Regions from separate parts of the Homo sapiens genome. Here regions 2, 3 and 4 are each linked to region 1. The links are contacts of gene promoters, found by promoter capture Hi-C in blood cells and fetal thymus (Javierre and others, 2016). All regions are on one chromosome and are shown on one strand. The core of a region is centred on a gene start or on the middle of the fragment in contact, and the rest is flanking DNA. Distances in the headings are between cores, read along the strand shown.

Region 1 (4,943 bases), core at 1,239-3,738:
TGGCAATGTAAATTGATAGCTTATCTTCACAGATGCCAGACAATGGACAACTCACCATCAGTCCTCTGCTCACCTGAGACAAATGCATGTCTGATTGCTTCCTCTGCCCTATTGTTTATGTGAAAATGCAGATTCACTGAGCCAGACTAAGGCATCAGTGACTGTTCCTCTACCTGCCTCTCACATGGAGATTGTGTATTCAGTGAAAGGCTGATCAAAGACCCAAAGGAATGCAACAGTTTATCTCTTATCTACCTATGACCTGCGAGCTGCCCACCACCCCCAGTTGTTGCGCCTTTCCAGACAGAACCAGTGTACATCTTACACGTATTAATTGATGTCCTGTGTCTCCCTAATATGTATCAAAGCAAGCTGTGCCTCGACCACCTTGGGCACATATCCTCAGGACATCATCCTGAGGCTGTGTCACTGGCATGTCCTTAACCTTGGCAAAATAAACTTTCTAAATTGAAACCTGTCTCAGGTACTTTGGGTTCATACCACAAGGGAGGGTTCTCATGCACATGTGCCTAATAATAACAACTATCACAAAAGACTGCAAAAACCACAACTTTACACAAAGGCTATCGTAACCTTCCTCAAAAAAAAAAAAAAAACAAAAAACTTCTGTTGCAAGGACATCTGCCCAGCAACTGCTTGTCCAACCCTGGAGTGCTGTCACCCTTGTTATTGATCTTTGTAGCCAAAGAATTATCTCAAAACAATGATGTGATCCTCATTTTCCCTTTAAAAACCTTTGTCTTCCTAGGCCGGGCACTGTGGCTCACGCGTGTAATCCCAGCACTTTGGGAGGCCGAGGCGGGCGGATCACAAGGTCAGGAGATCAAGACCATCCTGGCCAACATGGTGAAATGCCGTCTCTACTAAAAATACAAAAATTAGCTGGGTGTGGTGGCATGTGCCTGTAATCCCAGCTACTCCGGAGGCTGAGGCAGGAGAATCGCTTAAACCCGGGAGGCGGAGGTTGCAGTGAGCTAAGATCACGCCACTGCACTCCAGCCTAGTGACCAAGTGAGACTGTCTCAAAAAAATAAATAAATAAAATAAAAACCTTTGTCTTCCTTTACTTCCCTGAATACCCACATAGCTTATTGTGGCATGCATATTCCCATTGCAATGCCCTATTCACAAATGAACATCTTTTTCGTTCAGAGTCTCCCTGTGCTTTAGGTAGACCTTGTCTAGATGCTAACTCGTAGAGAAGAACTCAGCTTGAATATCACCCCTGGGGGATGACCTCCATTCTCTCCTCCTTCCTTTATTCAGCGAGGTTATGAAGCACCTGCCCTGGGCCAGGGGCTTTTCTGGGCATGGAGTAGGAGTGGACAGAACACAAAACCCCTGTCCAACACACCTCACAGACATTAAGGATTGAGTGCTGAGTATGCTTGGAGTCAAACTGTAAAAGATTTGAAGATATTTATTCATGTCATAGTCCCAGGAGATCCTGAGAACACGTGCTCAAACTGGTGGTGCTACAGCTTTTGGTTTCGTACGTTTTAGGGAGACATAAGCCATAAATCAATACATGTAAGATGTAACATTGGTTCCGGAAAGGTGGGACAACTCGAAGGTGGGGTGGGGCTTCCAGGTCATAGGTGGATTCAAAGATTTTCTGGGCCGGGGGCAGTGACTCACACCTGTAATCCCGCCACTTTGGGAGGCTGAGGTGGGCGGATCCCTTGAGGTCAGGAGTGAGAGACCAGCCTGGCAAATACGGTGAAACCCCGTCTCTACTAAAAATACAAAAATTAGCTGGGCTTGGTGGCGGGCGCCTGTAATCGCAGCTACTAGGGAGGCTGAGGCAGGAGAATCGCTTGAATCTTGGAGGTGAAGGTTGCAGTGAGCCGAGGTCGCGCCCACTACACTCCAGCCTGCGACAGAGCAAAACTCCATCTCAAAAAAATTTAATTAATTAAAAATTAAATTAAATTAAAATACTGTAAAATACTTCGATATCTTTCAGGGCCTGCCATCTGTCATGTCGGTATCCTATTGCTACGGAGAGTCCGCCTAGACAGTCTTAAGTCTGTTTTGACGTTAATGCTGGTCCGAATTCCAAAGGGAGGAGGAGGGTCTAGTGAGGCGGGTCCCACCCGGCCTTTCCCATCAGAGCCCGAACTCGCGGTTCAGGTTCCCTCTAGGACGCCCTTGGCCGAGAGGAGGCCTCCAATGGCTGGCTGGGGGGCTTAGAATTTTATTTTTGGTTTACAGCGCAGAAGAAGAGCAGTGAGGCCGGGGCGCGGGTGGGGAGGGCAAGGCGGCGGCTCAAAAAAAAAGCCAGCCCCTCGCGGCCCGACAGAGTCTCGGCGCCCCGCGGGTCGGTGGAGCCTCAGGGGTGAGCGCAGGCCGGAGACAGGGGAACCCGCCGCGGGACAGGGGAAGGCCGGACGGAACGCGGGTAAGCTGCCGCAGCTTCCGGCCGGGCCACTAGCGCGGACCCTACGGCCGGGGCGGGACTTCCGGCAAGGCGCGGAAGCGGCGGTAGCTGCAGCTGGCGAAGTTGGGCGACTGGCGGATGCAGGCCTTGCGGCACGTCGTGTGCGCCCTGTCCGGCGGCGTGGACAGCGCCGTGGCCGCGCTGCTGCTGAGGCGGAGAGGTGAGGCGTCCGAGGCTCCCGCCCCCCGCCGAGCGAATGTGTCCCCGGAAACCTGTCCCCGTCCGTCGTGGCGTTGTGCACGTCTCCTCCCTCCCTGGGCCGCTGGTTGCGCGCGGGTCGGCAGGAGGATACCCCGTCCTCTGACTTTGGTTCGGAGGCTCCTCGCCCTCCACCTGTGTAGTCGGAGGTGTGCGCGACTGCAGCTCCGACTACCTGGGAGCAGTTCCGCGCCCCTCTCCACCCACGCGCGCCCACCCACAGTGAGAAGCCGGCGGGCCGGGGTGGGGTGGGGAGGGAAGGGTTTCTCACGGATCTGCGGCGTCCACATTCACCTGTGAGACCGTGGACACTGGTGAGGGGAGCTGGGATCGCCGGGCCGGGGGCCTGACCTCTGCACACGCTGTGGCCGCCCGGTGGGAGGTCCTTGTCCTCCCCACTCAGCAGACTGGACAACTGCCGCGCGGCGGGTCTGCTTGTTCAGCGTCTCCTGTGTTCTCCGCTCGCTGGAGGACAAAGTTTTCTCCAGGAGCATTTGCATTTCTTCCGGCATCTAAACGGAGCCCCACGGGTGCTTAGCATTCCTCGGGCCCGGCGCTGAAATGAGCACTTGTTTAACTTCACCTGTGTGGCTCCCCGCGGGAGGCCTCATTCACAGAGTCACGTTTGTGGAGCTCTGCTTTGCGCCATCTTTGGCTCCTGACCTTGGGCAAGTGAATTAAGCCGTCCCCTGTAAAATTCGGCTAACACCTGCCTCACGGGGTGACTGGAGGGATTAGATGACATAGTACATACTGATGAGTACGTGCTCAGCACATACGAGGTACGCAGAAAACAGTAGTGGCTATTAGTTTATATTGTTAATAACCATAGCTATTATGGTAGGTACAGTAAGTGCCAAAGAGAAGGGTAGGCGGACCATAAGCAGAAATAGTTGTGAGGAAGGGAGAGTGGAGGAAAGCATCCTAGAGATGGAGGTGCTCAGCTGAGTCGAAAGAAGAGTAGGATGTCACTAAGCAGAGACTTGGAGGTGGAGGCGGCCCTCCCGGCACAGTCAGCAGTGCAAGCAGAATCACAGAGGCCTGCAAGTGTGGGCTGGTTCTGGCCAGATGGAGATGGAAGGAGAGGAGCCTGGAGCACGTTTAGCCCTGATTATGGAAGATGCTATACCAGGGGCTTTAGACTGTTAGGTAGACATTAGTCTGGTTGATCTGGGATAGGGGTGGTCTTTCGCGTGTGGTGGTGTAGTTTTGACAAAGCTTTGTCATCAAATTTCTGTTGTTTTGGGTACTATATGAAGCCTTCTTCAGCAGTCATTTGCCCTGTCTTTCATTACATTCAGCCTACCTAAACGAACCAGCTTTCTCATACAGGGTCTGCACCTGTGTAGTTTGCTAAGGTGGTGTAGGGCTAAAGTTGGCCTTTCCAATATTTGGGTGAATATTTTGTTACAATCGAAAAGGTAGAAAATAGGTCATAAACTAGGTGGTACAGCTCTTACAAAATATCGAAAATTTTAATTATCTTTATATCTGATCACTTAGAATCTAAGTCTTAGATAGTAACTAGAAATAACTTTTGAAAAGAGTTTCCTTTTTTGATAACTGAATGGTGCTTTGAAAAATTTTGTTGAGTTTCGACTATTCCTTCGTGTATTCCACACACACTGGCTGATCCCCTCCTGCTAGGTATTGTGCTGATACATAGATGGGGACACAAAGATGAGAAAATACCACCTCGTTAATCTTGGGGACTCAGGCACCAAGATGGAAACCGGATCCCTGAAGCCACATGGCAAAGCAGGGACTGCCCGGCAGGCCAGGCACAGAGGCACAGGAGCACAGCGTGTGGGGAACTTCTCAGAGCTCAGAAATCACTGCCGTTTTACCGAAGGTTGATTTATGTATTCTCTTTAATTGACCTTCCCGCCCGCAGGTTACCAGGTGACAGGGGTGTTTATGAAGAACTGGGACTCACTGGATGAACATGGGGTCTGTACTGCCGACAAAGACTGTGAAGATGCTTACAGAGTTTGCCAGATCTTAGACATCCCTTTCCATCAAGTGTCCTACGTAAAGGAGTATTGGAATGATGTGTTCAGGTGAGTGCGGGTCACAGCACAAAGGAAGCTTCCTCACACTGTGGATCCTTGCAGTGGAAGGATCCGGTAACCAGCCAGACCGACGCCTGTGCTGCAGCCCAGCGCTCTCCCTCCACGGTGGTGCTGAAGACTGCAAGAGGCCTCAGCCACCCTCGGGGCTCTGTGTTAGAGGCGAGGCCTGGACCCCACAGCACACCCAGCTCTCTCACTCCTGTCATTTTGCC
Region 2 (4,943 bases), core at 958-3,457, 200 kb before region 1:
GTCCGGCCTCATCGGGAGGCTGGCACCAAAATCCATTCTATGTGGGTGAAGGCACCTACAGGGAGCATGCATGGGCCATGGGAGGTGTGCCCTCACCAGCCTGAGAATCACGGAGGGCTTCCTGACCACTAACCTGAGTCCTGAAGGGCAAAGAGCAGAGATGAAGCAGGGCTGTGGGGTGAGGAGAAGCGTGCACAGCCTCCACAGGTGAGGAAGCCCCTGCCAGGGACGGGGCTTGGGGGTCAGGGGAGGGTGGGCAGGCCACCAAGGGCCTTGGGCACCCGTGGGTCCCTGAGGGCCATAGGAAGTCATTGAAGGTTTTAGCAGGTGAGTGATAAGATGAGAGGAGTGTTTTGGTGCTGGTGGTTGTGGTTGTTGCTTTTTTGAGATGGAGTCTCACTCTGTCGCCCAGGCTGGAGTGCAGTGGTGCGATCTCGGCTCACTGCAACCTCCGCCTCCCAGGTTCAAGCGATTCTCCTGCCTCAGCCTCCCGAGTAGCCGGAACTACAGGCGTCCGCCACCACACCTGGCTAATTTTTTTTTATTTTTAGTAGAGTTGGGGTTTCACCATATTAGACAGGCTGGTCTTGAACTCCTGGCTTCAAGGGATCCACTCACCTGGGCCTCCCAAAGTGCTGGGATGACAGGCATGAGCCCCACGCCCGGCCCAGAGGAGTCTTTTGAAAGTTCCTTCTGGCTGGGTGTGGATTCTGGATTGGGGTCACGAGGGTTGGGGCAGAGAGGGCAGGTTGGTAGGTGGGGGCTTCCCCAGGCAGGCGCCCTGCAGTGTGGACAGGAAGCTGGTGGGGATAGGACATGAGGCAGGGGCTGCATCCCACGGCCCTCAACTCTCTCCAGTGATGGATGAGGGGCGTGGATTCAGCGGCCCCCTGCCTCTGGCAGAGACTGGGTCTGGGATTGGTGCTGCCAGGCCTCTGGCCCCATTCCCAGGACCAGTCCCTCTACCCTCCCAGGCCCAATCTCGTCAGCCCCGGCACAGGGATTCACGCCGGGGATGGGCCTGGCTCAGACGGTGCCCCCCTCCTAGCCCACATCCAGGCAAACAGCCGTAAGAGCAGTGAGAGCGCCCTCTCCTGGGAGCGCTGGGCAGGTGCCAGGGCTGACGCCACCGTAAGGTTACAGGGCAGGGGTCACTCCTGCTAAGCCCCAGGGAAGCCCCTCCCTACAAGTTGGGTCCCAGGTAGCAAGGGCAGGAAGGGTGTTTCGGGCATGGGGAACAGCATGTGTGAAGGCTGAGGTGGAGGGAAGTGGGTGGGTCCGGCAGGGGGCACTGGTGGGTTTGGGGTTCAGAGAGAGAGCCCTGCGTTCAGTGTGGGCCATGGAAGGAGGGAAAGTGCTCTAGGCAGGCAGAGGGGAGGGAGGCAGCGGAGGCTGGGGATAGACTTGGGCCCTGTGCACATGAGGGGAGGGGACGGAATGAAGACACTGAGCTGGCCACAGAGGTCACCGAGGTTGTCCGGAACACGCCCACCATATTTATGGGACACCTCCTGAGACCCCCAGGCCTATTTCAGGGCCTTCAGTGCAGGGCCCCGGGATCAGCAGCGAGCAGCACAAATGAGACCCTGGGCTCAGGGAGAAACACAGGAGGGGAAGAGGGGGCGCAGTTGGGGGCAGGCTTCCAGAAGCACCTCGCCTTCAGGAGTGTGGGTCGGGGGGCTGGGCTGGAGACAGGCCCCAGACTGGGGCAGCAGTGGCAGGAGCTAAGAGTGTGGGTGGCCAGGGTGACTGGGACAGGGGTTGTGCCAGGAGCAGCCTCATCGCCCCTGGGTTTCCCAAGAGCCATCAGTGCCCATGCCCGGGTGCTTGTGGCTCTCATACCTCAGGACGAGCAGCAGGATTCGGACCCAGGGTGCTGGGGTCTGCAGCCCCCCACTGGACGCTGAGATCTGCACAGCCTCAGCACTAGCTGCTCTCAGCCATCAGGTCACCCGTGAAGCAGCATGCAGGGACCCGGCACTCTCCACCCCACAGAGAGGGCTCAGGCCCCTGGTCTGCTGTGCAGACCCAACACAGACTCTCATCTTGTAGTTGTTTTTTTTTTCTTTGTTTGTTTGTTTTGAGACAGAGTCTCACTCTGTCGCCCAGGTTGGAGTGCAGTGGGGTGATCTTGGCTCACTGCAACCTTTGCCTGCCAGGTTCAAACGATTCTCCTACCTCAGCCTCCCACGTAGCTGGGATTACAGGCATGTGCTACTACACTCAGCCAATTTTTTGTCTTTTGGGTAGAGATGGGGTTTCGCCATGTTGGCCAGGCTGGTCTTGAACTCCTGACCTCAAGTGATCCACCTGCCTCAGCCTCCCAAAGTGCTGGGATTAGAGGCGTGAGCCACTGCACCCGGCCTCATCTTGTAGTTAATGCTTTCTGTGTACCTGGCCTGTGCTGGCCAGCGCCATGGTGGTAGCCACCCACTTGACAGCAGCTGGGAGGTCCCTGGGCACAAGGAGAAGAGGTGACAAGGCCGGGTGGGAGGAGCTTGGTCTCGCACAGTCCTGAGGTGACAGCCACCTTGGGCTGCATACCACTGACCTGGCCCTGCAATGGAGGCAGTTGCCCAAGTACCGGCTGCTGGCTGGTGCTCCGAGGCAGAGGGCACAGTGGGGTCCAGCTGGGTTGGGGGGCCACTGACAGCCAGGGAGCAGCAGGGGGCTGGGTTGCTGTATTATCAAGGGCACAGCTGTCCCTAAAGCCACTAGGCCAAAGGGCCTCCTCACTCCTGTGCGACGTGGCCCTGAGAGTCCAAAGGCCAGGCCAAGGTCACGCCATGGTCAGTGCCGGCCAGGGCTGGAAGCCGAGCCTCCTGACCCTTGCACCAAGCTCTCTCCTCTGTTCAGGCCACGGCATCCAGGCCTGGGGCCACGAACCCGCAGTTTTCTCCCGTCCTGGGGCAGTCAGCCCTGGGCTGTGGGGGCTGCTGGGGCTGGGGGTCCGAAGGGCTGCGGACTCCCAGGAAGGAGATGTGAGCTCTATGGAATCCTAGCAGGAGCCCGTGGCATCCTCAGCTTTCCGGGTGTGCTGGGTACAGGGGCAGATGGCTGGCATGCTGGGGGGCCTGAGGCTCTGGCAAGGCAGCTGGGCACAGCCTGAAGGTCTGAGTGCCTGGCCCCCAGGGAGGGATGGCTTTGGGCCACCTTTGAAGGCCTCTTGACCCGCAGATGATGCAGCCTGCAGCCACCTCCGTCCACTTAGCAGGTCCTTTCCAGCCTGGCACCGGGTCACAGGTCACATTGGCCCCTGAAGTGCCAGCCCACAGCTCCAAGGAGGGCTACAGGGGAACATCGGCTGGCTGGGAACTCACAGAGCCCCAGGCAGCGCTCAGCTCCCTCCCCGGCCCTGCCACAGGGCCCTGCTGGCCTCTTCACCCCACACCTCCCTGTCAGTCCTCCTTCCAGGGCAAAGGCCCCAGCTCTCACTTGGGGCTCAAGCTATCCTGGGCTCCTCACTCTCTCTTGGTCACTGCCCTCCCCTCCCAGACACCCGTCTCCCAGCCACCTGCACCTCCCCAGCCCTGTGGTGCAGTGTAAAGCTGGCCCTGGCACCCTGTGGTTGTCCCGCCTCGCCCTTGGACCCCCAAACCCCCCAAGCCCCAAAGTCAGGACTGCATGACGCTTAGAAGCCCAGCCTCCAGAGCTGAGTCCCTGGTTCAAATCCCGGCTCCACCAGTTTTAGCTCTGTGACCCCTCTGCCTCAGTTTCCTCACCCACAGAATGGGGATCACTGGTGCCATCCCATAGGGCCAGTGTGGAGATTAAATGAGCAAGTTCTTACAAAACCTGAGAATGGGGGTCCGGCCATTGCTCCAGTCTGGTCTGGGTGTTCTCCCTGCTGGAACATTCCTGCTGCCCCCTCTCCCCACAGCGCCTTCCCCACCCCACCCCTTCTACCTGGAAAGCAACGGGCCTCATGCCTGGGAGGGGCCTCCTGACCCCCAACCCCAACTGCCCAAGCCACGAACCAGTGCACTCACCACTGGCCTGGTGATCCTGGGGTCTGGGCCAGAGATGGGGTCACCTCCGCATCCCCCACCCAGAGCAAACCTGCCCCTGTCCAGCCCCGGACAGCTCTGCATCTCCCTCCTCCTGCAGAGGGCAATGGTAATCCTTGACATGCGGTCCTCCTGTCCTCTTAAGATTCCGTGGCCTGTGGTGTCTGGAAAACTTTGAATTCCATGACTGTCTGGGGCCAAAAACGATGAGTGCACAACAAGAAAACCCTCCCAGGAGGCCTGGGCAGCCAGGACGCGCATCTGTGCAGGACCCTCAGCGGAGGTGCGGCCAGCGGACCTGCACCTAGAGCTCCCGGCATGCCCAACCCTGCAGGTTCAGTGTCCTTGTCATTCCCCATGAGCCAGAGGCACGTGACGCTGGGGGCTTCATCCTGTGGCCACAGGAAGGCTCCAGAACACTTTAGACAGAGTGACAGGGTCAGAGGTGTTTTTATTTTCATGTTTTAATTTTGTTCGAGATAAGAGTCTTGCTCTATCGCTCCAGCTGGAGTGCAATGGCTTGATCTCCACTCACTGCAACCTCCGCCTCCCGGGTTCAAGCAATTCTCCTGCCTCAGCATCCCAAGTAGCTGAGATTACAGGCGTGCACCACTACGCCCGGCTAATTTTTGTATTTTTAGTAGAGACAGGGTTTTGCCATGTTGGCCAGGATGGTCTCGAACTCCTGACCTCAAGTGATCCACCTGCCTTAGCCTCCCAAAGTGCTGGGATTATAGGCGTGAGCCCCTGCACCTGGCCCAGAGGCACTTTGCAAGAAGGGCTGAGAGGGGCAGGGGAGTGCAGTAGGGAGCTACTTGGGGAGCAGGCGGCCTGCCAGGGCACAGGTGACAGTGACAGTGTCAAGGGTGGCAAGGTGTTGAGGAAGCCACTCCTAGGAGGTGGTCACTGGTGTGGAGGGCAGAGGGGCTGTTAGGC
Region 3 (4,943 bases), core at 1,784-4,283, 200 kb after region 1:
TGGTCAGCGTGTAGGCGACCTGGTTCTCATAGTCCAGCTCCATCATGGTGTACATGGTGCCACTGTCGGGGTCAATGCGGAACTGCGGCACGGGGTCCTGAATCACGTAGGTGATGCGGGCATTCTCTCCTGTGTCCTCATCGTTGGCACTGAGGGTAGCAATGGAGGTGCCCACAGGCCTGTCCTCACTGACACTCACTGTGTAATGGGAGCTCTGAAAGACAGGCCTGTGGGTGTTGGCATCAGTGACGTTGATTAGGACATGCGCAGTGTGCGACCGTGTGCCGTCGGATGCTGTCACCGCCAGCACGTACTGCTGCTCCTGCTTGTAGTCCAGAGGTAGCGCCAGGGTGATGAGGCCGCCCCCTCTCTGGCTGCTGAGTGCAAAGCGGTTCCGGGTGTTGCCGCCTGTGAGCTGGTAGGTAATCACACTGTTGGCGTCACGGTCGCGGGCCTGCAGGGTCAGCACGCTGCTCCCCACGGCCGCATCCTCATTCAGACGAAGCTCGTAGGTGGGCTGCGTGAACACCGGGTCGTTGTCATTCACGTCCAGCACCGTGATGGACACGCTGGTGGAGGAGCTCATGGGGGGCGAGCCGTGGTCCACCGCCTCCACCCCGAAGCTGTAGTGCTCCACCTCCTCGCGGTCCAGCTCGGCACACACTGTGATCCAACCGGAGCTGTTGTGGATCTGGAAGGGGAAGTCAGGGGTGGGGGCAGGATTCTTAGGCCCAGCGCTGCCGCCCCCCAGAAAGGTGGAGGCCGTGTCCACCAGGCGATAGTGCAGCCGGGCGTTCTCTCCAGAGTCCGCGTCCACCGCCTGAATGTGCACCACGGGGTAGCCCAGGGGCACATTCTCCAGCACCGTGGCCTGGAAGGGGCTGCTCACAAAGATAGGCTCGTTGTCGTTGACATCCAGCACCTGCACAGACACCACCCCTGAAGAATTGATGAGCGGGGGCCGGCCCCCATCCTGGGCCTTAATGCTCAGCGAGTATTTCTGGACATCCTCGAAATCCAAGGGGTTGATCACATCCAGGATCCCGCTCAGCGAGTGCAGGTAGAACTGGCCGGCCACGTTCCCGCTGAGGATGCTGTAGTGAATGGCCGCGTTCTGGCCCTGGTCCCGGTCCGTGGCCTGCACTCGCAGCACAGCCGTGTTGAGCCCCACGTCCTCGGGCACCTGGACCACGTAGTTCTGCTCGCTGAACTGGGGGTAGTTGTCGTTCTCGTCCTCCACCTCGATGTACACGGTGGCCGTGGCACTGAGCGGGCCCGGATTGCGCCCCTGGTCGTTGGCCTCCACCAGGAGCTGGTACTCGGCCGCCTCCTCCCGGTCCAGCACCGCCCGTGTGCTCACCACGCCAGAGCTCTCGTTGAGCTGGAAGACGTCCCACGCGCCCCCCAACACGCGGTAACGCAAGTTGGCGTTGATGGGCGAGTCGCGGTCGCTGGCGCGGATGGTCAGCACCTCGTAGCCCACCTCCAGGTTCTCCCGCACGCGCTCGCGGTACTCCGACTGCTCGAAGACCGGGCTGTGGTCGTTGGTGTCTTTGACCAAGACAGTGATGTAGGTGGTGGCCGAGCGCGGCGGCGTACTGTAGTCCACGGCTTTCACCCTGAGGACGTGCGTCTCCTTGGTCTCGCGGTCCAGTACGCTGTCCGTGCTCACGGCGCCCGTGGCAGAGTCGATTCGGAAGTAGCCCCGGGAGCGCTCGTCGAACAGCCCCTCCATGTAATAGCTCACGCGCTCCTCCTCGCCCTCGATGGTGTAGTGCGCGTGCAGCTGGAGGATGAGGGTGCCCGCCGGTTCGTTCTCAAACAACGCCACCTGGTAGTTGGGCATCGGAAACTTCAGGCTCCCTCTGCCGCTCGTGCCCCGCCGGGCCCGTCGCGCCGGCCCCGCCCGGGCTTCGGGCAAGTTCGGCGGCAGGGGCGGCGATGGGGATGGCGACGCGGAGGGCGTCCCCGCGGTGGCGGCCTCCAGCGCCAGTCCCACCCGGACGGCGCCAGCCGCGCGCCGCAGGGCGCACAGCAGACGCAGGCGGACCGAGCCGCCCGGCGGCAGGCAGATGGGACGGCCGGGACAGCGGGGCCTGGGGCGCGGCGGGCAGCGGCAGGCGGGTAAGGTGGTCGGAGCTGCGAGCGCCGAATGCTGCGCGGCCGCGCAGCCGCCGGGGACGGGGAAGCAGAGCGCCCCGCAGAGCCGGGCACCGGTTCCGCAGAGCCGGGCACGGGCTCCGCAGCCGGGAAGGTGCGTGCGCGCCCGCAGGCGGCGGCTCAGCGCCGTCGGGGCACTGCGGGCCACCAAGCGGACTTGCAGCGGCAGCGGGCGCCCCGCGCCCGAGACGCGCCGACGTCCTGCCAGCCGCCCATCGCGGCCCACGTCCAGCAGCTCCCGCGGCGCCCGGGGCGTGCAAGCGGCGCCCACCGCGTAGGTACAGCCGGGCCGGAGGGCGAAGGCGCGGGTCCCGCCGGGTACGCGCGGCTCCCAGGCGGCCGCTCGCAGCCCCATCGCCGGCAGGGCGGCGGCGGCGGCCAGGAGCAGCAGCACGGGCAGCACGGGCGGCGGCGGCGGCGCCATGGCCCGGAGCCCGAGCCCGAGCCGGGCGCCCGAACACAATCCATGCACCCGGCGCGCCTCCGCATCCACCCGGCGAGGCCGGGGAGCGGCTCCCGGGCGCCCGGCCCTCGGGGCGGTCCGCGTCCCGCCTCCCCGGGGGCCCTGGCGGGGACTGTGGGGACCACGCGCCCGGCCTCCCCCGCAGCTTCCACTTCGAGAGCACTTTGCGAAAGTTTGCGAAGTTGGTTTCAAGATGGCTCCTCCGCGCGTCCCGGGAGGGCGCCGCGCATCAACCTGCGGCGGCGGCGGCGGCTCCAGGCGGCTCCAGGTGGCTCCGGCGCGGGCTCGGCCGGACGGGCGTGGGAAGCGGGGCGGGCCCGGCGCGGGGCGGGGGCTGAGTTCCCGGAGCGGGCTGGGCAGCTCCGCGCCGCGCAGACCCCGGCGGCCGGCTGCTGCCTGGGCGGTGCGCTTGGCCCGCGCCCACTCCGCCCGCGCTCTCCCCGCCCCCGGCCCGGCCCCGCCCCGCCCCCGGCCCAGCGGCGTATTGTTCGGCCCCGGGGGGAGCCGGCTCGGAGGTGCGCGCCGAGAGGATCGCTATGGAGACGCGAGGGCGCGGCCGGGACGGGGACTGGGGCCCTACTCCCCGGAGGCCTCCCCACCCAGCCTCCCGGTGGGGCGGGGCCGAGGCAACAGGGCCGGGAAAGGTGGGGCTGGGGCCCCCGGTGGCCGCTACCCGTGGGGCGGTGGCTCCGCACCTCGGGCTCGGGGCCGCGGCTCAGAGCCTGGCTCCCCACCCCGGCAGAACAGATCCACGGAGACCGCCGCCAGGAGTGCCGCGCGGGTAGGACCCGGGGGCGGAGGACTGGGGCCGAGAGGCCGGGGAGCCCCCCCCCACCCATTAAGGACTGCGGAGGCTGTCGAGGAGGGTTACCCATTTTACAGCAAGACGCACGGAGGCTAAAATGCTTCACCCCGACTAAAACTCCCTGGACTTTGAAGCCCAATAGGCAGCTACCGGATCTGCGTCCCACTTGGTTTAAAGCGCAACTTTTAAATGAAAGAAGAAAACCCCGGTTGACATAAGGGATTTGGAGAGGACGGCGGAGGCGCGCTCATCTCCCGCGTGCGGCCCGACCCGAGCGTTCGCGGACGCATCGCGGAATCCCCGAGCGTCCGGCTCCTCCCGAAGCGGGTTGCGGGGAAGGCGGGGGGCTGCGGGTCCTGGAAGCTGCCTGGGGCAAGCAAGCACCCGCAGGGATTTAGAGCTGTGCCACAGCCCCTGCCCAGCCTCCTACGGAGGACAGCGGGGGGCGGGGGGCAGAGACCTTAGAGCTTTCAGAAAAGTGACACACACCCCCGCCTCCTGCGGGGAACCACGGGGGGCCGGGGGCAGCTTTAGGTTTGCGTGACGGGTACACCTGCCTCCGGATGGGGCACAGGGATAAAGGGGGTGGAGGCTTAGGACTTGGCGACCCCCCGCATGGGCGGGGCTTTGGGACTGTGCCACCAGCGGCTGGGAAGGGCGCGCACTCCCTTGGTGGCGCTCGGGGCGCCGGAGTCCAGTGCAGCCCTTAGGCCTCCCAGTGGTCGGGGACGGTAGGTGGGGGTCGCCTCTTCTCTCCTAGAAGGGCTTCTCCTGGGGCCGGTCGGAGCGGTGGGGGTGGGAGTAATGCGCAGTCACCCCTAGAACGGGTCTTTTTGGCAAGGGAGGGTCGGATCCTGCAGCCAAATCTCTGAGCTGAGCTGAGATGAGTCCAGTCTCAACGAGGACCGTGGGCGGCTGTGGAGAACCGGAAGGGTTTCTCCCCCGGAGCGATGTGTCTGTGTGTGTGTCACACGCATACTCAGCCAACTTCGCTCAAAGCTGCTGAAACAGTGTCTTTGTGCTGAAGCCCAATGTGAGCATTTTCTTCCCAGTAGCAAGGATTTGAACACGTTATATTGATCTAAAAGGTGGAGTTGCTTTGGAACCTTTTAATTCGAGGTTTCCACTGGAGAGTCCTGTTGGGAAATGTGTGTGTGGAGGGAGGGGAGGAAGGAGAAAAGTCCGTCTCCTTAATGTGAGCGGTCCAGGACCTCCCCACCCGCCATATACCCTTCCACTGGGATTTTTCCGGGAAGGATGAAAGGACAGGAGTTCTGGGGCCGGAAGGCAGGGCGGGTCCCTGAGCCCGGAGCCTCCCAGTGGAAGGCTACTGGGCGGACCTGAAGGGGACCCAGGCAGGAGGAAAAACCAGAGAACCCCAGGAGTGCCTGTTTTGCAATAAGGCTTTAAGCAGAGTGGGTTGGGTTTAAATAAACAAAACTCAGCTGCAGCCAGTGGGTTCAGGTGTGGGCCTGCTTTTCTGGAATAAGGCACCTGCAGGCTGCGAGGTAACCA
Region 4 (4,943 bases), core at 1,793-4,292, 190 kb before region 1:
GGCACTGGGGCTGGTGTCTGCGAGGCATGAGGCCTGCCTGTCGGCTGTCCTGAGTGGAGAGACAGGACCGGGCAGTGGGCCGCCATAAAGATGGTGCTGGATGCGACAAGAGCCGCATGGAACACAGGAGGTGGTGGCCACACAAGGCAGAGGGCAGCTTTGGCAGGGGGACGGTTGCCAAGCAGGCTTCCTGTAGGAGGCAACTCTTGACAGAGCCCTCAAGCTGGTGGTTACCATGTCCCAAATATGACCCACTCATCAGGCCCCACCCTGCACCACCCCCGTGCTCCCTCCTCAAACTCACACCAGGACCCATCCAGGAAGGCGTCCCTGCCCCATTTTAGAGATGAGGGGGCTCGGATAGCATCACCGGCTGGAGGTTGTAGTTTGAGGAAAAGGTACAGGAGGATTTGAATCCAATTCTGTTGAACTCCAAACCCCAGGCACCCACTCATTCCATGAGGGAAAGTTGGGGGACAGTGCCCACGTGGCACGGTGCTGTGCACGTAAGCTTGCCTGTCTTGTGTGTTTCCAGGCTGTCATGCCAGACCTCATCTCTGCACTTGCAGTCTTCCCTGGCCGCAGCAGTGCCACTCACTGCCAACCACTGGGTCAGATCATTGCAGAATCCAACTCCACACAGAGCAGATTGTCCTTTATGGACCAAATATGTCTATCTGGTTGGGCGCAGCGGCTCACGCCTGTAATCCCAGCACTTTAGGAGGTCAAGGCGAGCGGATCACCTGAGGTCAGGAGTTCGAAACCAGCCTGGTCAACATGGTGAAACCCTGTCTGTATGAAAAATACAAAAAATTAGCCGAGTATGGTGGTAGGTGCCTGTAATCCCAGCTACTCAGGAGGATGAGTCAGGAGAATCACTTGAACCTGGGAGATGGAGGTTGCAATGAGCCGAGATCTCACCACTGCACTCCAGCAAGGACATAAGTGCAGAGCAAGACTCCATCTCAAAAAGAGAAGAGAAGAGAAGAGAAGAGAAGAGAAGAGAAGAGAAGAGAAGAGAAGAGAAGAGAAGAGAAGAGAAGAGAAGGGAAGGGAAGAGAAGAGAAGAAAAAAGAAAAGAAAAGTAAAGAAAGAAAATCCGTCTATCTACACATCACACTTTGCAGTGAGACTCCCACGGCACCTAGCATGACACAGGGAGGGGTCCTGCAGCTTCCAGTCCATGTCCTGGACTGGATAAACAACATCCATGATCTAGCCCTGGAGCTGGATCCTGTGTGACGAGGTGGACACCTGTCCCTTTGGAGGGGCAAAGAAGGGAGGCAGTGCAGCTGCAGGTGGGCTGCCCTGTTCTTCTCAAGATCTACAGAGACAGACATCTGAGCCATGTCGAATGGGCCCTGCTGCAAAGCTGGGGACTGGTTAATTTTCAAAGGGTACAGTGTCATGACAGCAGCAGTTTCTGGACCTGCGGAAGCTTCCAGATCCTGCAAAGCTAGAATGGGTGCACAGCTTAAGCCCCTCCCCACCACCTCAGCTGTGACCACTGGTTAACATGTAGCATGCAGCACTTGGTGCTAATCAGATGGAGTCATGCCTCTGCTGACAACCCTCCATGGCAGGTGTCCCACAGCCCTTAGGACCAAAGTTAAACTCCTCACTGGGCTGCAAGACCTGCCTGGCCAGGGCCTTGCCCAGCTCTGCCCGCTTTGTGCCATCTCCACACTCTCTCCCCTTGAATGTCTCCTGCCACAGGCTTCTGCACATGCTGCTGCCACCCCCCTGGAGCTGTGGGGCCAGGAGCAGCCACCAGGGAAATCTGATCCTTGACCCTGGGCTCCTGAGTCTGCCAGAGGCTGCCGTATCAGCCAACAGACAGCTTCTGCAACAGACAACCGAACCCCGGGGGTACCCAGGGCCAGGTGCTGATGGACTGGGACTCGGGAGAGTTCTCACTCCCTGCCGGGGACCTTGGCCACATGCTGCCATTCCTGGCCCTTCGTTCCTCATCTGTAAGATGAGCATAAGCACAGCTGCCTTGTGGGACTCTTGTAGATTCTGTCCCCTAGTATGACAATACTTTGTTACCTTGGACCCATGGGGTTTTGCTGTCAGTACCAGGATGGCAACTAAGGACATGCCCATGGTTGGCCCTCACCGACGAGGTCCAGCCTTGGGTCGCCAAGCAGCCGCCTGCTCGCTGCCAGTGAGCCCTCCCTTTCTCAGCCCACGGCCCCTGCCCCGGTGGACTTCCACCACCTGACCTGCAGGCACGCTTCCAGGAGCTCAGAGGCCACTGCCCTGGCGGATGACACCCTGGAAGCACACACTCCCCCTTGACAGAGAGCTTTGCACATCAGCAGAGGGCAAGCCAGCAGCAAACTTCGCAGGCCCTGGCTGGCAAACAGACTCCAGCCTGGACCCCAGGCCCATAGGAGAAGCTTCACCCTGGCAGGGTCAGGGAAAGCACTGGGGTCCCTGAACACAGATGACCGTCATCACCTGCTCCCAGCACTCAGGGTCTAACTGCTGCCCTGTACTGAGCGGCCAAGCCCTATCACTCCAGGTTGCCTCCTCCAGCAACCCCTTCCCGTCTGAATTCCCAGCTTCCCAATTCTTTCCCTGAGGCTGTGGGAGAGCCTCGGCTTCTCTGGCTGGCTGGCAGGTCAGCACTTGCAGGAGAGAGCAGCTCAGCAGGGCAGACGTGGGCTTTACAGACCTGCCTTCCGTCCTGCGCCCTGCCGCTGGCCTGGGGGACCCAGTGCAGATGGGGCTTCTCTGTGCCTCAGTCTCCATCTTGCAATGTGGGCACAGTAATAATTACCCTCAGAACATCTTCCGGATCAGAAAATGTAAAAAGGGACCTGAGACAGCATTGTCACCACATAAATGGTAGCTATGAACTAAGATCCATATGCACCAGATGCTCCCAGTAGTCACTAAGGCGCCAGAGAGGAAACTCAGGTGGTGCTCAGAGACATTTTCAGGAGCACTGATTTGTCCTCAAAGTTACAGATTTCTACTCAGTCCCTGCGCCAGCGGTGTTTCTGTTCTGTCGTGTGGCCCTCATTTCATCAGCACTGAAGAAGGTAAAGAGAGACTTCCTGGAGCTGGGAATGGGGGTGAGGGTGTGCCCTTTGTGACAGTTGCTCCCATGCTGGGTGTGTGACAAGGTCTTCGTGGCCAACAGAAAATTGCTTCATCTCTCTCATCTGAGCGTGGTTTCCCAGAAGAAACCTACCACCCCCGGGAAGCATGGATATGGGGCTGTTTCTGGCCAGGATACTCCCAAGAGAAGAGTCCTGAACTTGCTTCTACCCTCAGGACGCCTGCGGGAGACTGGCTGACAGCATTTGATTGAAAATGCTTATTTCTGGGACACATGGATGAAAAACAAGTTTTCTCTCCCTAAAACCTTGGGAGCCCCAAAAAACCCAAGAATATCACTTTCCTATGTCTGCTGAGTGTACGTGACCACTCTGCACACCCCCACATAGCCTTTGTCCTTGTTCATGAGAATGTTCACTAGGTCTTTCAACACCTGGTTGACCTGGGTGGTGCATCTGGGTCACACACCTGTGTGGACCCTGGTCCTTGAGAGTCTGGGATATGGGTATGCCAGGTAATGTCTTTGAGCCCGGAGGTCCTCATGAGGATGTAGCCCCTGAGCTCTGCGTGGGCAGCCCAGGGTCAGCTTCCCTCACCAAACACAACAGGATGACAAGCTTGGATGTGGCTGCCTGCACACCCCACGAGATATGCAGGATATTACGTGTACAGGTCACCCTATAAACTCTGAAACAACATAAATGATAGCTATTGCTGGCTAACATGTGCAAGAGAAGGTGAGGTTGCCGTGTGCCAGTGGGAAGGATATGTGGGTGTCTGGAGGGTGGGGCAAAGTTCACCATAGGTGCCTGGCTAATCAACAAGGGTGAGTTTAAGAGAAGTTTGTGAAAGGGCCAGTTCCCGCCTGATCTCCAGTTCCCCTGCCTAATGAGATCTGGGTTTGCTTTCCGGAGTGGGTCCTCCTGGGCGCCCGCTGCCACAAATAGCACAGTGGCAGGCACAGCTGGCAGCGGAGGGCAGGCAGTGGAGCGGGCATAGCACACATTGCGTTCCCGAGGAGGGGAGCCCTGATGTGCCGGCACCCAGGGGCTTTGTGCATTCCGCTCCGGCAGCTCGAGCGTCACGGCCCGAACAAAGCGGCTTTGCAGGGCGCTCTCCTACTCCTCGCCATTGGCCACCGGGCCGCGACCTCTCCTTGCTCTGGCAGAGTCCCAGCGCCTTGCGTAGGCACAAAGTCAGCCCCTCACCCCCCAGCGCATGAAGTAGGGGCGGGCATGGCTCTTGGGCCGCTGGAGAGGGGTGGGGTTGTGGGGTCGGAGCTGGCGGCGCCTCCCCGAGCCCGTCCGCGTTGCCCTTCACCCTCCTCGTTCCCCCGCCCACCACACCGCCCTGGCACCTCCCGCCACCTGTTTCCTTGTCCTCCCAGCTCGCCTTCCCCTTCTCCTTATTTTGCATCCTGGGGTTCCAGGGACAAGGTCCCTCCCGGGCCGCCTCCCACCCTACGCACTTCTGAGCCTCAAGGGCACCCGGTCCCGGGTCCCGGGTCTAGACCGGCTCATCGCACAGAGTAGCAGAGCCGGGCTCATCGAGGAGGCAGGAGGGGCTCGCCAGCGTGGCACGGGCGCCCGGCGGGAACCTCCACCCGCCCCGCGGCCGCGCGTCCCCGCCTCGAATTCAGCCCCGCCCCGGTGCGCCGGGCTGGAGGGGCGCTGACGCTCAGCGGTGTCCCATCGGTGACCTTGGACGGTCCCTCCACCTCTCCGGCCTCAGTTTCCCTTGGCTGCAGCGGCCGCGGGGCGCTAGGTGGGAGCCGCTGAGCGCTCCCGGGGCCCCGCCCACCGCGAGCAGCCAATCGGGCGCCGCCCTCCGGGGGGTGTGTCCCGGGGCCGAGGCCCGGGGCCCGGAGGGCGCGC

Evidence for each region. The method cuts DNA at HindIII sites, captures the fragments that hold promoters and counts their contacts. A CHiCAGO score of 5 or more calls a contact.
Region 2: a contact is called between a fragment that was not itself captured here and the fragment with the promoter of TRMU in region 1, in 17 of 17 cell types (M1 macrophages, endothelial precursors, erythroblasts and 14 more). The highest score is 14.1, in M1 macrophages.
Region 3: the fragment with the promoter of CELSR1 here is called in contact with the fragment with the promoter of TRMU in region 1 in 1 of 17 cell types (M1 macrophages); the score reaches 5.4 in M1 macrophages.
Region 4: a fragment that was not itself captured here is called in contact with the fragment with the promoter of TRMU in region 1 in 3 of 17 cell types (endothelial precursors, neutrophils and erythroblasts); the score reaches 7.5 in endothelial precursors.

Annotation. Positions count from the first base shown.
Region 1 is chr22:46,333,226-46,338,168 of GRCh38, forward strand. It overlaps TRMU (tRNA mitochondrial 2-thiouridylase), which reads left to right and starts at 2,489. Exons shown (of 11, transcript NM_018006.5): 1 at 2,489-2,621; 2 at 4,554-4,719. The coding sequence starts at 2,540. RefSeq lists enhancers at 2,527-2,746, 2,579-3,078 and a silencer at 2,887-2,936. The HindIII fragment of the contact is 6,278 bases long and covers 1-3,875 here.
Region 2 is chr22:46,130,225-46,135,167 of GRCh38, forward strand. All of the region lies in intron 1 of LOC124905137 (a long non-coding RNA gene), which reads left to right. It overlaps LOC124905138 (a long non-coding RNA gene), which reads right to left. Exons shown (of 2, transcript XR_007068140.1): 2 at 4,454-4,943. Among named protein-coding and RNA genes, the nearest start is that of PPARA, 18 kb to the right of the region's middle. The HindIII fragment of the contact is 6,870 bases long and covers 1-4,943 here.
Region 3 is chr22:46,534,587-46,539,529 of GRCh38, forward strand. CELSR1 (cadherin EGF LAG seven-pass G-type receptor 1) reads right to left here and starts at 3,034. Exons shown (of 35, transcript NM_001378328.1): 1 at 1-3,034. The coding sequence starts at 2,584. The HindIII fragment of the contact is 22,329 bases long and covers 1-4,943 here.
Region 4 is chr22:46,145,447-46,150,389 of GRCh38, forward strand. No RefSeq gene overlaps it. Among named protein-coding and RNA genes, the nearest start is that of PPARA, 2.6 kb to the right of the region's middle. RefSeq lists a silencer at 4,541-4,943. The HindIII fragment of the contact is 1,284 bases long and covers 2,401-3,684 here.